Regions from separate parts of the Homo sapiens genome. Here region 2 is linked to region 1. Evidence: promoter capture Hi-C in 16 types of primary human blood cells and fetal thymus (Javierre and others, 2016). All regions are on one chromosome and are shown on one strand. Each heading gives the region's core, a stretch centred on a gene start or on the middle of the fragment in contact. The rest is flanking DNA. Distances are from core to core; before and after follow the strand shown.

What was found. Contacts are between HindIII fragments. The CHiCAGO score rates a contact against its expected background, and 5 or more counts as called.
Region 2: a contact is called between a fragment that was not itself captured here and the fragment with the promoter of CCER1 in region 1, in 3 of 17 cell types (M2 macrophages, megakaryocytes and M1 macrophages). The highest score is 7.7, in M2 macrophages.

Annotation. Positions count from the first base shown.
Region 1 is chr12:90,952,958-90,960,312 of GRCh38, forward strand. It overlaps CCER1 (coiled-coil glutamate rich protein 1), which reads right to left and starts at 2,219. Exons shown (of 1, transcript NM_152638.4): 1 at 1-2,219. The coding sequence starts at 1,785. The coding sequence ends at 565. RefSeq lists an enhancer at 1,128-1,227. The HindIII fragment of the contact is 2,103 bases long and covers 374-2,476 here.
Region 2 is chr12:91,331,743-91,339,043 of GRCh38, forward strand. All of the region lies in intron 1 of LINC02823 (long intergenic non-protein coding RNA 2823), which reads left to right. The region is part of intron 8 of LOC105369896 (a long non-coding RNA gene); the gene reads right to left. Among named protein-coding and RNA genes, the nearest start is that of LINC02823, 8.5 kb to the left of the region's middle. The HindIII fragment of the contact is 3,558 bases long and covers 3,110-6,667 here.

The DNA of each region.
Region 1 (7,355 bases), core at 969-3,468:
GCCTGCAAATGAGGTTAACAAAATATAACCCTCAAAAATGAACTCTGATGGTGGAAAAATCTATGAGGAAAAATATTGTTGAAAAAATACAGGGATTGAAAATGGCTTCAGTTATGTTAAGAGCACTGGTGAACATTTAGTAGCGTTAGAATGTGCTTCTTACGCATGTAATAAACTATCTCTTGATTCCAAGCTCATTAAGTGGCCAAGTTGTATAAATTTGTTTCAAAAACAAACGCTTTTTCAGCATTGCCAGATTTAAAAAAACAACAGCAACTCTGTTTTCTAGAGGGGAAAACACCAAATGAAAATATTCAAATGGTAGTAATAAAATACTTGGCCTTTAATCAGTTCCAGTAAAATTATATTTGAAAGCTTCCCCACCACCCACCCATAGTCATACACATACGCATCAAATTTTAAACATTTTATAATGGCCAAAGAAGGTGTTTACATAGATCTGTTTATTAATGGAACTCACTTTTTAATCAGTTTTTAATAAATTGCTAATCCAGTTTAGCCTCAAATCAGTTCCATCCCTTTTCTCAATCCCTTTTCTGATGTCTAACAGTTAAAGTCCTGTGCCATGAACAGGGATTCCTGTGGCACTTTGGGAATTATCTGCTCTGGGTTTAAAAAAGTGCAGCTTATAAAGTTCTCTCTCTTTTCTTCAGCCTCTACGAAGATTGATAAAGGCATTTCCAGAGGCAAGTGAAATTCTTCCCCTCTCTGCTCGTTCTCCTCCAGGACCTCCTCTTCCTCTTCCAGCTCCTCCTCTTCCAGCTCCTCCTCTCCCTCCTCCACATATTCAGCCTCTTCGACCTCTTCTTCCTCCTCATCTTCGACCTCTTCCTCCTCATCTTCGACCTCTTCTTCCTCCTCGCTCGCCTCCTTTGCATCACACACCTCCTGGTCATACTCCTCCTCATCATCATTTTTCTTCTCCTCCTCTTCTTCCACCAGCAGCGGGGCAAGAGACTGGTTTTCCTCTGGGTTGGGACTGAATGCTAGAGAGGGATTCTGCACAAAGCCATACAGAGTTTCCTGCAGTCCCCAGGTTTCCTTGCTGCCGCCAGGGGGCGCGTCGTTTCCGGAGGATCTGGCTGGGGAGGCCTCGCCGCTCACCGTGGCCTTCTGCGCCCGCAGCGCCTCCTGCTGACGCTCCACCTTCTCCTGCTGCCTCATGTCCTCGTAGATCTGGTTCATGATGAATTGGGTGGTGTTGGGCGGCGCTCGCATGCCAGGCTCTCTCCACTCATACAGCTTGACCGGCCGCGGCAGCGTGCTCACATCCGCTGGCGGGCTCCGCGGGTAGGAGTGGCGAGGGTGGTGGCGCAGGCCGCGGCCTCTGCGGCCCCAGCGCTTCTTCCTGCCTGGGGGCTTCACCCAGCCAGGGTTCCAGGACCCGCTCCAGCAGGAGCAGCAGCAAAAGCAGAGAGGGTGCAGGCCATACACCCGAAACACTTGCACCGGGCAGGGGAATTTCCAGAATCCTGGAGGGGGTGGGCGCCAGGGCCCTCCCCAGCACCCCCAGTTAGAGCACACGGGTGGTTGGAACCAAAAGCCCGGGCCGTGCTGTTGCTTCGGCTGCTTCCTTGGGGGCCCATACTCGGTCTTGGGGCTATATCGGTGCGGTCTATTGTACGCTGGAGCACCCGGGCGCCTTCGATGGCAGGACGACCAGGAGCTCAAGGAGGCCGAGTGTGCCCAGCCACAGCCACAGCCGCCGCCGCCACCGCCGCCCAGGTTCAGAGGGTCTTCCCTTGTGTCGAGGGTCTGAGTCATGGTTCAGGGAGCTCCGAGAGGTCCAGATGGTAGCGACCTGAAGCTGTCGTCAAGTTTTGCCAGGTAGGACGGTCAGAAGAGCCTCGTCTCGTCAACCTGTCTCTCCACGCAGCGCCACGTGTCTACCCCTGGGATCACGTTTTCCTCTCCAGGAGGCTGCTCTCTTCCTGGTTTGCACGCTCTTCGGTAGTAATCGCTTGTCCTTCGCACCTGGGTTGTCTCGCCCAGGTGTGCTGGGTGGGACTGGGGCTGGGTAAGGATGGTGGGGGAGGAAGGTGTTGGCAGGCGACACGCAGTGAGACCCACTCCCGGGTCCCCACCACACCCGGCTCTGCTGAGGCACGGGCTGGGGCCGGGGGAGGCAGGGGTTGCGCAGTTACCTGCTGCTCCCTCTCAACCCAGGTGCTTCACTGTCGCCGTCCTGGCAGGACTGTGGTGGCGAGGGCAGCGGCAGCCTTTAAATACTGGCTGTGGTCTCCCGCGTGCCCACTGCGTTCTTGGTCACCCAGGGCAACAGCCAATTGGGGTCGAAATCGTCCTCCCTGTGTGCAAGGCCGGGTTCTGTCCGGAACCAGGCTCCAGGTGAACATTCGCAGGGGGCTTGTGACGCAGCGTTTGGGGGAGGTGAAGAGGGGTCCAGGCTGGGTTTCTGCTGCTCAATTCAAGCAAGTCTGGAGGCAGTTTATCCGAAAGCTTTGTATCACCTTGAGGCGGGGGTTTAGAAGATGGGCCTTCATCTGAACCCGGTGGGGGCGGGAGAACTTGAGTTTTGAAAACCCCACATTCTACACCTTTGGAGGGCCTAAGGGATCATGGAAAATTACTGGAGAAAGGAAACTTTGCCCAACCTCTTACCTTCTGGCCGGTGCCAACTCTTCTTACTCCTGAGAATTGGGATTCATAATACATAAAACAAGACCACGAACATTTATTATTGCATGTGCTCACTGACAAATAATCCTGTCATCTACCCTGAGAGGTAGGCGTATCTTATCACCTGTCACAGATGAGGGAACTGAGAGCTTAATTTCCCCATGGTTGTGGGGCTAATAAATTTCCAGGCTACGATTTAAGCCTAAACCTGTTTGACCCAAAAGTTAGGTTCCTAATGACATTGCTATGTGTTCTACCAAACCCCCAGTAGGACCCTTGTGATAACTAAATGACATAACATTTGGGAAGGTACTTTGCTATTGGTAATATACCGTACATGTGTACCTCAATTAAACAAATATTATTATTACCATAATGAATACCACAGGTTTGTCCTTGGGAAGAGGAATATTCTGATTGTCTTTCCTTTTGTCCCTTCACTGACCATACAGCATATACACGGGAAGCCTTTAAAGCATTGTGGTTAAGCATATGGGTTTTAATTTAAATAAATGGGATTCAACTTCAACTCACCAATTATTAATCTCTGTAAGCCTCAGTTTCCTTACCCATACCATGATTATACTACCTTTTCCATACGGTTGTGTAAAGAATTAAATGCATATAACAGGTCCTCTAATATTAATGTTTTGCTCAATGTCATTTCCTTATAACGTTGCTGAGGCAAAACAACAACAATAACAAAACCACGTTTCATTATATGTCTTCTCATTTAAAAGTAGCAGTTTCCAAGAACCTATGATGCTAAGTGAGGACTTACTGTAATTCCTTCAAGTACTTAGTGCAGGTACCCTGTAAGTACTCAGTAACTGTTAACTATCATCCTTATTTGTAAATACTTCATGACTTCTAAAAGAGATGATATAGTATATGTAAAGGCACTTGTTCTTGATGCAAAAATAGGCATCCCCACCCTGGCTTGTGTCCTTTTCTTGTCCTTCTTTGTAAAACGTCAAGGAAAGTGCTACCATACTTGGTCCTAGAGAAAACCGTCTCAGTTTATATCCCTTTCTTACTTTTCTGTGCTGAGTGGAATTGCACAAAATGGAAAACTGCCTGCTGGGAACTTCAGTCTATATAAGGCTCCATTAAATGCCAGAAAAGCAAAATGTGTGAAAGCCCTGAAGCTGGCAAAGGTCATTTATGCATTCCTGGCTGAAAATTGAGAACATTATAGGGGGTCTTGGATCAGGACTCCAACATTTGCCCTGAGACCTGTAGAATCCACAGGCTTCATTTAATTTCATTTGCTCTGTGGTTTGCTGAGGACACCCCTGCTTGACTCAAAGTACAGAATGCTGACATGTTTAGCCTGCAGTATCCCTTTCTAGATATGGACTCACCTTTGGCAGTTATTCTGACCCTGCTCTGTGTACTCAAAATGGAATGGTGAGAGCCCAGTTTTATTTTTTTCTAAGGACGTGTGTTATGCAAAAATGGGTTTTAATTGAGAGCATTACAGATGGACCATGTTGCTGTGTTGAAATTCCAATCAGTTTCTTTTTGTTTTAAAAGAGATGGTTAACTCATTTTACAGGTAATTAAGGACATCATTTTTTGATCAGTTGATGTGACCTTTATACAGTTAATCTTGGCATTATATACTTTTTGCATGGTGAGAATATTTATTCTCCCTACTGAACAACATTGACACGTTATTGGCTTGCCCGAATTTTCTTAAGAGAAGCAGCAATTTATTATTTTGATTATGATTTTAATTTTACAGAGATTGGAATTATAATACAAGTTTTGAATGTACTGGTAAATCATCCAAGAAAATTTACCACTAAAGCATGTTAAACAAAAAGTCAGACATTTAATTAATTTTTAAAGACACTTTTATAGTTCTTTTTTTAGTGACAAATTATTGTATATATATATGGCACCATGTGATATTTCCATACATATATACTTTATGAAATGATCAAATTAGGCTAATTAGTATATTCAAGTATTTGTCGTTTAATTGTGGTGAGAATTTAAAATCCTCTCTTATAGCTATTTTGAAATACACAATACATTGGTGTTCATTGTAGTCACCTTGATGTGCATTAGAACACCAAAACTTACTCCTTCTCCCTACCTGTAACTTTGTACCTGTTGACCAATGTAAGGACACATTTTTAATTGACCCATATTCTTTCAATACCATGAAATGAAATATTCTGATTCAATATTGAAATATAACACATTCATCCTGTTGTTGAATATTGTATTAGCTTTCTGTTGCTGCATAACAAATGATCACAACCTTGGTTACTTAAAACAATATACATTTATTATCTCAAGGTTTTCAGGAATCAGGGGTCCAGGAATATCTTAGTGGGCCCTTTGTCCATGGGTGCAACAGGCTGTGATATGGTTTGGCTGTGTCCCTACCCAAATCTCATCTTGAATTGTAGCTCCCATAATTCCCACATGTTGTGGGAAGGAGCCAGTGGGAGATAATTGAATCATGGGGGTGGTTTCCCCATACTGTTCTCGTGGTAGTGAATAAGTCTCACGAGATCTGATGGTTTTCTAAGGGGAAACACCTTTCTCTTGCTTCACATTCTGTCTTGCCTGCCACCACGTAAGACGTGATTTTGCTCCTCCTTTACCTTCTGCCATGAGTGTGAGGCCTCCCCAGCCAAGTAGAACTGTGAGTCCATTAAACCTCTTTTTCTTTATAAATTGTGCCGTTTCGGGTATGTCTTCATTAGCAGCATGAGAACAGACTGCTACAGGCTGTAATTAAGATTTTGAATGGTTTGAGTTCTCACTGATGTGCTCAATTCAGAAAAATTCACTCCTAAGATCATTTATGGCATTGGCAGAATTTATTCCCCATGGCTGTAAGACTGATGGCCCTGCCTTTTAGCTCTCTGTTGGCTGGAGCCCAGCTTTAGGACTTGAGGCCACCCACTAGTCCTAGGGGCTAAGGGCGGTTCTTAGACACTGCCCAAAGCAAGAACTGTGGGCTTCCTCAACGGGGCTGCTCACATCATCTAACTGGCAAAGAAAATCTCCATAGTTTCTCCTAGCAAGATGGAAAGTTACAGATGTAAATACAGACATATACACGTGTGTGTGTGTGTGAAAGTGTGTGGCTGTTTATGATAATCCTGGCCTTGACATTCTTGCCTTAACATAATCCTGGGTTTTCCATCACCTTTGCCATAGTCTGTGGGTTAGAAGCAAGGCCCAGGTCCCCGTGGACACGCCGTGTGGAGGGGTTGGGGGAGTGGGTATTACACAAAGGTGTGAACACCAGGAGACCAGGAGGCAGACAATCTTACCATCAGTTTCCCACATATGTAAAGTAAATTGAGTCAAATATGTTGTTCATACTCACTTGTTGCTACTTTATTTGGAAGATTTTAATGACACTGTTGGCCTTTTTCAAATTGTAATAAGTGCCGTATGATGGCGTAGGCTCTGCTATGTTTTATGTTGTGCAGAGCATTATGTTTTTAAGTTGAAAACATACTGCAATTTTGGTGTTGGTTTTTGTGCATTTTTGTGACTTGAAGAATTCTAACACTTGATGGCAGTAGTAGCTCATTCAAAATACAGTCAGCAACAATTCCTATACAAAACAAACTGACAAGTAAACAACTCATTTTTGTGTTTTATCATGAATTCCATTTTTAAACAATTCCAGGTTGCAGTATTAATTACCTTTTATTCTTGTCGTAGAATTGGGTGTTTTTATTATACTTCAGCATTTTTCAATTGGCTTTGAAAAAGCAAACCTCTGCCAATTAAACTTGTAAATAAAATTCTTCAGAGAAAAGTTAGATATGCCCGATCCAGTCAGATAAATGAAATTCAACAAATATTTTTTAGATCCATCTATGTCACTAATACAGTGCTATGTGATACAAAAATAAATAGAATGCATGCTTGCCTATAAGTAGTTTTAAAGTATAATGTATTCTGGGGCAGTAGGATGCAGTGCTCATTTTTTCTTGGCAAATAACCTGTAATATTTAAAGAAAAATAAACATATATGGCAATTGAATAGTAAAAAATAGCAATTTGATGCTTAAAAATACATGTTCTGTCAGGCTTGCCTTTTCCTACTGCAGACATCCACGCAGCAGGATTTTAAAACCAAAGGGTCAACGCCATCTTGTGGTCACAAAGGCTAAGTACAAAGTATTAAGCCTTTCTAGCTTTTCAAAGCTGAGATAGAGATTCAAAGGGCATATTGCTTTCTCTTAATAATTTGGGAAGTTTTGGGGTTAGTTTGCAGATTTTTGAGGTGTGTTGTGCATCAGGGAACACCATTGTGGTTTTTTCCATTTATGAATCCTCGAGTCATTTTAAGCAAATTTTGAAGAGGGAGTTAACTTTGTGATGACAATGTTTCTATAGATTCAGAGAAATAAGAAATGCCAGTTTTACAAATCGTAGTACTATGTGTAGATATTATTTGCTACCACCTCTTGAAATTATTATTGATCCTATAACAATTCAAGATTTTCAGAGGATTAGCACAACATATTGTAGTTATCACATCTGAAAAACCTGGGCACTCAGAAATACTTAGATAGGAATTGTTAGCCTGGTCATGTTTGCTTATAAGTAGTTTTAAAGTATAAAGTATTATGGGGCAGTAGGATGCAGTATTCATTTTTTTCTTGGCAAATAACCTGTAATATTTAGAGAAAAATAAACATATATAACAACTG
Region 2 (7,301 bases), core at 3,639-6,138, 380 kb after region 1:
GGACTACAATATCCAAATAGTATTTCACTGGTAAGAGCGATGGCTTTTTAAAAGAGTGAAATAGACTCTTTCCTTATCATCCAATGAAACCTATCATCCAATGAAAACCATCATCCAATGAAACCCATCCCTGGATCAAAGATTCTGGAAGATACTACTGTCTTTAAGTTTTACTTAAACCAATTAAGAGCTAAAATGTAGCCAAGATTCAAAATAAATTATTTAGTGACATTGAAGATAGTTGAGTAGGAATATGGATAGATGAGTAATAGAAAATGCATAGTACATTGTAGGTTTAGTAGAAAGTGATTAAAGATAATCATTATATCATCTAGAAATTAAAGAAGCAAAAATAAACATTTTTGTCCATTCTTTTACTAAATAACAAAGATTTGTTTAGTCCCTCCATTTAGTACTATTATTTTTCTAATAATTATAAATTTAGAGTACATTTGATATAAATATTTAATTCTCAATATTAAATCATATTATCAAAAATACATATCAAAATTATTTACATAATTATATGAAGTTCTAAACTGCTTAAATGATTTAAAGGGTATGTATTTTGTATATATCTAATCATTTTCTTTCTTCTAAAATTATATATGAGTATGTAATTTTTTCAAAGAAGTTATTTTATAAAGTAAATCATAATAAGGTAATATAAATGCTTCCAAAATTAAAATACATGTTCCATATCACTTTCAACAACACAGTAGTATCTGTAATTAAATCCTGTAACTTGATAGAATAACCCTGCACCACCACCTGCTGTTGGAAACAAAAAATTTAATTTCATATATTCAACTTATAGCTATGTATAAGCTTGGTGCTAGGTATAAATCTTGGCGCTAGGTATAAATCTTCATGGGGATAAAGTAACATTATCATTATTATGGCTTTTATGGATTTTAAGGCTTCTTCATAATTTCTTGAGCATGTGTGTAGATTTTTAAGTATACTGATTCTACAAAGGAGGAAAGCAAGAAGTGGAACAAAACAAGTAAAGCCAAATAAAATAAATAAACACTTGCAATTTGAGTACTCTGCTGCACTTTGGGAAGAAGAGAACTTCATTTTTCTGCCACAGAATCTCTACAGTTTTTATTCTTAATAATTTCATATACTATCATTATTATTCCTGTGTATATTTATCACTGTTAACAGATATATTATCAATGTTTAATGCAAACGGAAAAAATGGCCTTTTCCATTAGGACAAACCTGTATTTGAATGCCAGCCCTTCTACTTGTTAGCTTCGAGCTCAGTCCGATTATTTAGCTTCTCTGAACACCAGGCAAAAGACTTTTTAAAAATTGAGATATACACATGGATCTTATAGGGTTTTATGAGATTTTTAAATATTATATGTAAAGTACCTGGGATACACATTAAGCACTGAATAAATGGCATCTCTGATTATGTTATTTTTATTCCATAATCTTTGTATGTGTCACTAAAATCTCAAATCTGGGAAGTTCAAATCTGATCAGACCATGGACAGATGTTAGAGAGATCATAAGAAGACATAAGAAATCTTATAGTTGAAATAAATATAAAGAGTGAGACTTGAGTCAGACACTCAACCAAACTTGATAAAAATACCAAATCTATAGTAAGTAAGCCTTACAGTTTCAGTCAACAATCCAACTGGGGATCATCTTGACAAGGAGGTTAGGGGAGGAGCACAGACAGTCCAAACATATGTTCATGAACATATGCAGATTCATCTGATGAAGGTCACCTTAGAAAGCTTGAGTCTCCCTCATAGACAAGCCTCTAACAGATTTTAAAGAATGGACTTTTATGTTTTCTGATATAAATTACTCATTAACTCTATAGAAAGCAGTAGTAGGCACATGTAATGATACATAAATAAAGTAGTGAGCAGGAACATCACTAAGGGAGTCTTTTATGAAAATCTAATTAAGTCAGAGAAATGAAATAAGACTATACATTTAGTACATATGAAATGAAGCAAAGGATAAATAAAAAAGAAAATAGATGGATGGACAGATAGATGAATGCAGAGACCTCAGAAAAGAAGTTTAGCAGGGTAGAAAGTAAAACTCTTCTTTACAATAAAATTCCAACTAACAAAGGTAGAACGAACGATAGAAATAGAAAAATCACTATTTGGAAACCATGCTAGTAATAATTATTTCAGGCAAGACTCATCAAAGAATTATTGCATAAAAGTATAGTGAGAAACAGGATGATTATATAATCTCAAAGTAGCTCACAACAAGATAGTTATTCATTACAAAGACAAAAATGGTAACTTTACATTAAAGAAAATTGGCTGACACCACCTTTACCAAATGGACAGTTAAATTACTGTTTCACTAAAGACAACATGCTGCACTGAGAAAAACACATCACTCCTGTTGTACTCCTGCCAAAAATACATGGCTTAAATCTAATAAGGAAACATCAGACAGACCCAAACTGAGGAACATTGTTCAAAATAACTGGTCTGTATTCTTTAAAAAAAAAGTAACTGTCATGAATGGCAAAGAAAAACTGACTGTTCTAGAGTAAAGGAAAATAAAAAGATATGAGAACTACAGGCAACATGGGATCCTGGATTGGTTTAGAATATTAGTGGTATAAATGGCTGAATTGGAATATGGCTTCTAAGTTAGACTGTAATGTTATTAATGTTAGTTTCTTGATTTTGTTTATTGTAATGTGGCTAAGTGACATAAACTGTACACTAATGTATTTAGATGTAAAGAGTATCATGTTTGTAACTTACTCTCAAGTGTTTCAGGAAAAAAATATATAACTACAGTTATATTTGCATCTATACTTATATCTACATTTGTAATCATACCTATGGAAAGGCCAGGGTTGGAAGAGAGAAATAGGGAGGAAAAGAGGAGAGGGAGAAGAAGGGAGGAAGAGTGAGAATTATAAAGCAAGCAAGAGAGGTAAAGGTTAACATTTGGAGAATCTGGGTTAGGGTATAGTATATAGGAATGCTTTGCTCTAATCTTGCAACATTTTTGTACACCTGAAATTACTTCAAAATTAAAAGTAGAAAATGATAAAGAAAGTGGAGAAGAAGGGTAAAGGACAAGGAGGAGGAGGAGAAGGAGGAAAAGCTTACTTTCAAAAAGATCTTATACCAAAATCATCTCATTTCTAGATGCTCCATAACATTAATAATATAAGTACATACTTACTGAATGAGAATAATTTGTATGGTGTATTAGCCCACGTTCATGGCACTGATAAAGACATATCAGAGACTGGGCAATTTACAAAAGAAATAGGTTTACTGCACTTACAGTTCCACGTGGCTGGGGAGGCCTCGCAATCATGGCAGAAGGTGGAAGGTACGTTTCACATGGTGGCAGACAAGAGAAGAGAGCTTGTGCAGGGAAATTCCCCTTTTTAAAACCATTAGATCTCATGAAACTTAACCATCACCAGAACAGCATGGGAAAGACTAGCCCCCATGATTCAGTCACCCCTCACTTGGTCCCTTCCACAACACGTGGGAATTCAAGATGAGATTTGGGTGGGCACACAGCCAAATCACATCATGTGGGAAAGAGAAAAAAAGATCTAGGAGCGGGAGTTTGGGATGAACTACACGTCTAATTGTACACATTTCCTGTGCTATAACTTCTATGAAGAAAAGAAACAAGCTAATTTTTGTTCACTACTGTTTATGCTGTTCCAATATAATGCCTGGCACACAGAAAATGCTTAACAAATATGTATTTATGGAACCATGTAAGATATCTACTTTATAATTGTTTTAACTCTTATTCTCCTCTTTTGCAATTGTCTTAAAATCTGCCCACTAAACATCTAGATTTCATAAATACATAACTATTCAATCTGTGTAACATTTTTAGGAGAGAACAACTAAATTGTATAAGGCAGAGAGAGCTTATATCTGAGTATTACATAGCAATGAAACATGGGCATCTCTTCACTCTCCAATCCTGACAGGATTTGTGGTTAACTTACATTCTTTTTCCCCTACTGAACAATTATAAATTTCCTTGAGTATTAATTAGTAGCCTTAGCCAGATGTTAAAGTGTGGCTGATAAAATGTAGCATCATATTTCAAACCAAAATCCAAAGTCTAAGCAACATCTAATTTTTTTGGAATGTGGATTGTGAAACTTGAAACTACCAGAGTATTGGATGTGCTAGAGAAGTGTGAAAGGGTCACAACTGAACCAGACACATCAACCAGCCTAAAGGGCAACAGATGGCAAGGAATGTCTCAGAGTTGCCTAGCTTATTTTATCCCTATTCTTGGTAACATCTCCATTTTCTCTTATATTAGACGGTGTACTACATAGGTCCAGCCTCAGAATGCCTGCAAACCAACAGCTCCCTTCAGCCTAAGACAATTACTTAATAGAAGTTTTTAAGCTGACAACAGATGGATACATCACCATACTCTACCCACAGCTGATAAATTCATCAGTGAGCCCTTGACCTGGTGCCAACCAATTCTTACAACCAGTGACACCTATGAGGTGGCCTGGAACAGAAGGTCCAGGTACATAGATAATGGTGCTTATGGTGGAGTTTTCTGTTTTGCTTTGTTTTAAAATAGAATTATTGAAACATGCTCAACATAAATTTTGCACATTTTAATGTGTACAATTTGATTTATGATATATAAACATATATGTATATCAACATATTTATACCCATGAAACCATCACAATGAAGATATTGTGCAGCAAACCACCATGGCACACATTTACCTATGTGACAAACCTGTACATCCTACACATATACCCCTGAACTTAAAATGAAAGTTGAAGAAAATAAATGTTGAATAAATCTATCACCTCCAGACGTTTCCTTGTGCCTTTGCAATCCCTCTCTTACTCCTGTCCACCTTCCTTCCATAGAAGGCAATCGTTGATCTGCTTTTTACCAATCTTTGTTAATTTTCATTTCTTAGTATTTTGTAGAGATAGAAGAACCATACATTGTGTCCTATTTTCAATGGCTTCTTTCACTCAGCATAATTGTTTCACTAACAGTTACATATATGGTGTAGCATAAATTTCTTTTTATTGTTGACTAGTATTCTAGTTTACAAATATACAATGGTTTGTTTATCTATTTATCTGCTCGTGGACATTTGGACTGTTTCCAGTTTTTAGCTATTATATCACAAATAGAAATGATATGAACATTCATGTAAAAGTTTTCATAGGAACAATGCTTTAGTTAACTAAAAATCTAGGAATGGAATAGGTAAGTTTATTTCTAACTGTTTAAGAAACTGCCAAGCTATTTTCTAAAGTGGTTATACCATTTTACATTCATAACGGAGTGAACGGCAATTCTAGATCTTCAATAACCTAGCCAGCACTTAGTGTATAATGTTATCTCATTGTGATTTTAATTTGTATTTCCCAAATAACCAATGATATTGAGTGTCTTTTAACATGTTTATTTAATACCAGTATATGTTCTTTGGTGAAGAATCTATTCAAATCTTTTGCCTATTTTTACATAGGTTGTTTATTTTCTTTATTGTTGAGTTTTACAAGTTCTTTATATATTCTGAAGACACATCCATTGCCATATATATGCTTTGCAAATGTTTTTTCCTATACTGTACCTTGCCTTTTTATTCCCTTAACAGTGTCTTATGAAAAGCAGAATTTTTAATTTTGGTGAATTCTGACTTTATTATAGGCCATGCTCTTGATGTTGTATCTAGTAAATCCTAGCCCAGAGAATCCTGTGTTCTCTTCTAGAAATTGTATAGTATTAAATTTCATATTTAGGTCTAATATCCATTTTGTGTTATGTTCAAATAATGAATTGACATTGATTTTATGTTATGATGACATTTTCATGTGTTTTGCTTTGTTTTATCTTCTGCATATTATTTGATTATTCCAACATCATCTAATGAGAATATGATTCTTTCTCCTTTGACCTGCTTTTACACCTTTTAAAGAATATCACTGTCCATATACGTGTAGCTCTATTTTTGGAATCTCTGTTTTATTCCATTGATCTATTTCTAATATTTGTACAAATACAACATTGCCTTGATTAAAATCACATTATAAGAAGTCTTGATATTAGATAGTGTTAGTCCTCCCACTTGGTTCTTCTATTTCAAAGATGTTTTGGCTTCTCTAGATTACTGCATTTCCCTGTGAATTTTAGAAATTTTTTTTTCATTTTCTGCCAAATCAAAACAAAACAAAAACTAGTACTAAAGACCCATGGGTATAGTATGGGTCTCAGTATACTTAGACCTTCAGTAATTTCTGTCTGCAATTTTAGGCAGTTTTCAGTGCACAGATTTTTTTGGTGTTTTATCAGATTTTTCCTTAATAACTTCATATTTTTGCTGTTAATACATATGGTACAATTTTTTATTTTTAATTTTTGATTGTTGGTTGCTAACATATAGAAATATAACTGATTTTTATATAATCTATAAGTTTGTCAAACTCATAGGTTCTAATATCATTTTATATATTTCATTACATTTTTTATAAAATGTTTGAATAAAGTTTTACTTATTTCTTAGTGACATGAGTGCCTTTAGTTTTAATTTCTTTATCTTATTGCACTGGCTAGGGCCTCTGTTTTAATGTTAAACAAAATTGATAAGACCAGACACCTTTGTATTTTTCCTAATCTTGGGAGAAAGCTTTAAGTCTTTCACTATTAAACAAGATATTAGTTGTATATTTTTTTATATCTGAACTTTATCAGGTTGAGAAAGTTACCTGCCATTTCTACTTTGTTGACATATTGTCAGGAATGAATGTTGGATTTTTTTCAAATGCTTTATCTCATTAATAATAGTGTTGATTTGGTTTGTTCCTTTCAGTTTATAATATGGTGATTTTATCTGATACATTTTTGAATGTTAAAACAACCTTACATCCAGGATAATTACTACCTGGTCATGATGTATTAGTGGAATTATACAGATATCAAAACCAGACAAAAATGTTAACATAAAAGAACATTACATACCAATATTTTTCATGAATAAATATGCAAAAATAGATAGATATGCTACCCAAATTTTAGCAAGTCAAATCCAGTAATATATGATGACTATGTGTGGTTTAACCCAGGAAGGTAAGGTTCAAGAGCAATGGGAAGAGGAATAGAGAGGACTTGAGTAAGAACATGGAGTAAAATGAATTTGTGATGACTTTGATGTTGAATTACCCTCCAGTTCTGCATTAGTGCTATCATAAAACTCAAGTATTCCTTATTTTCTTATTTCAGTAAAATTTCTTTCTCCTGATTTTATATGTATCCTTAGCA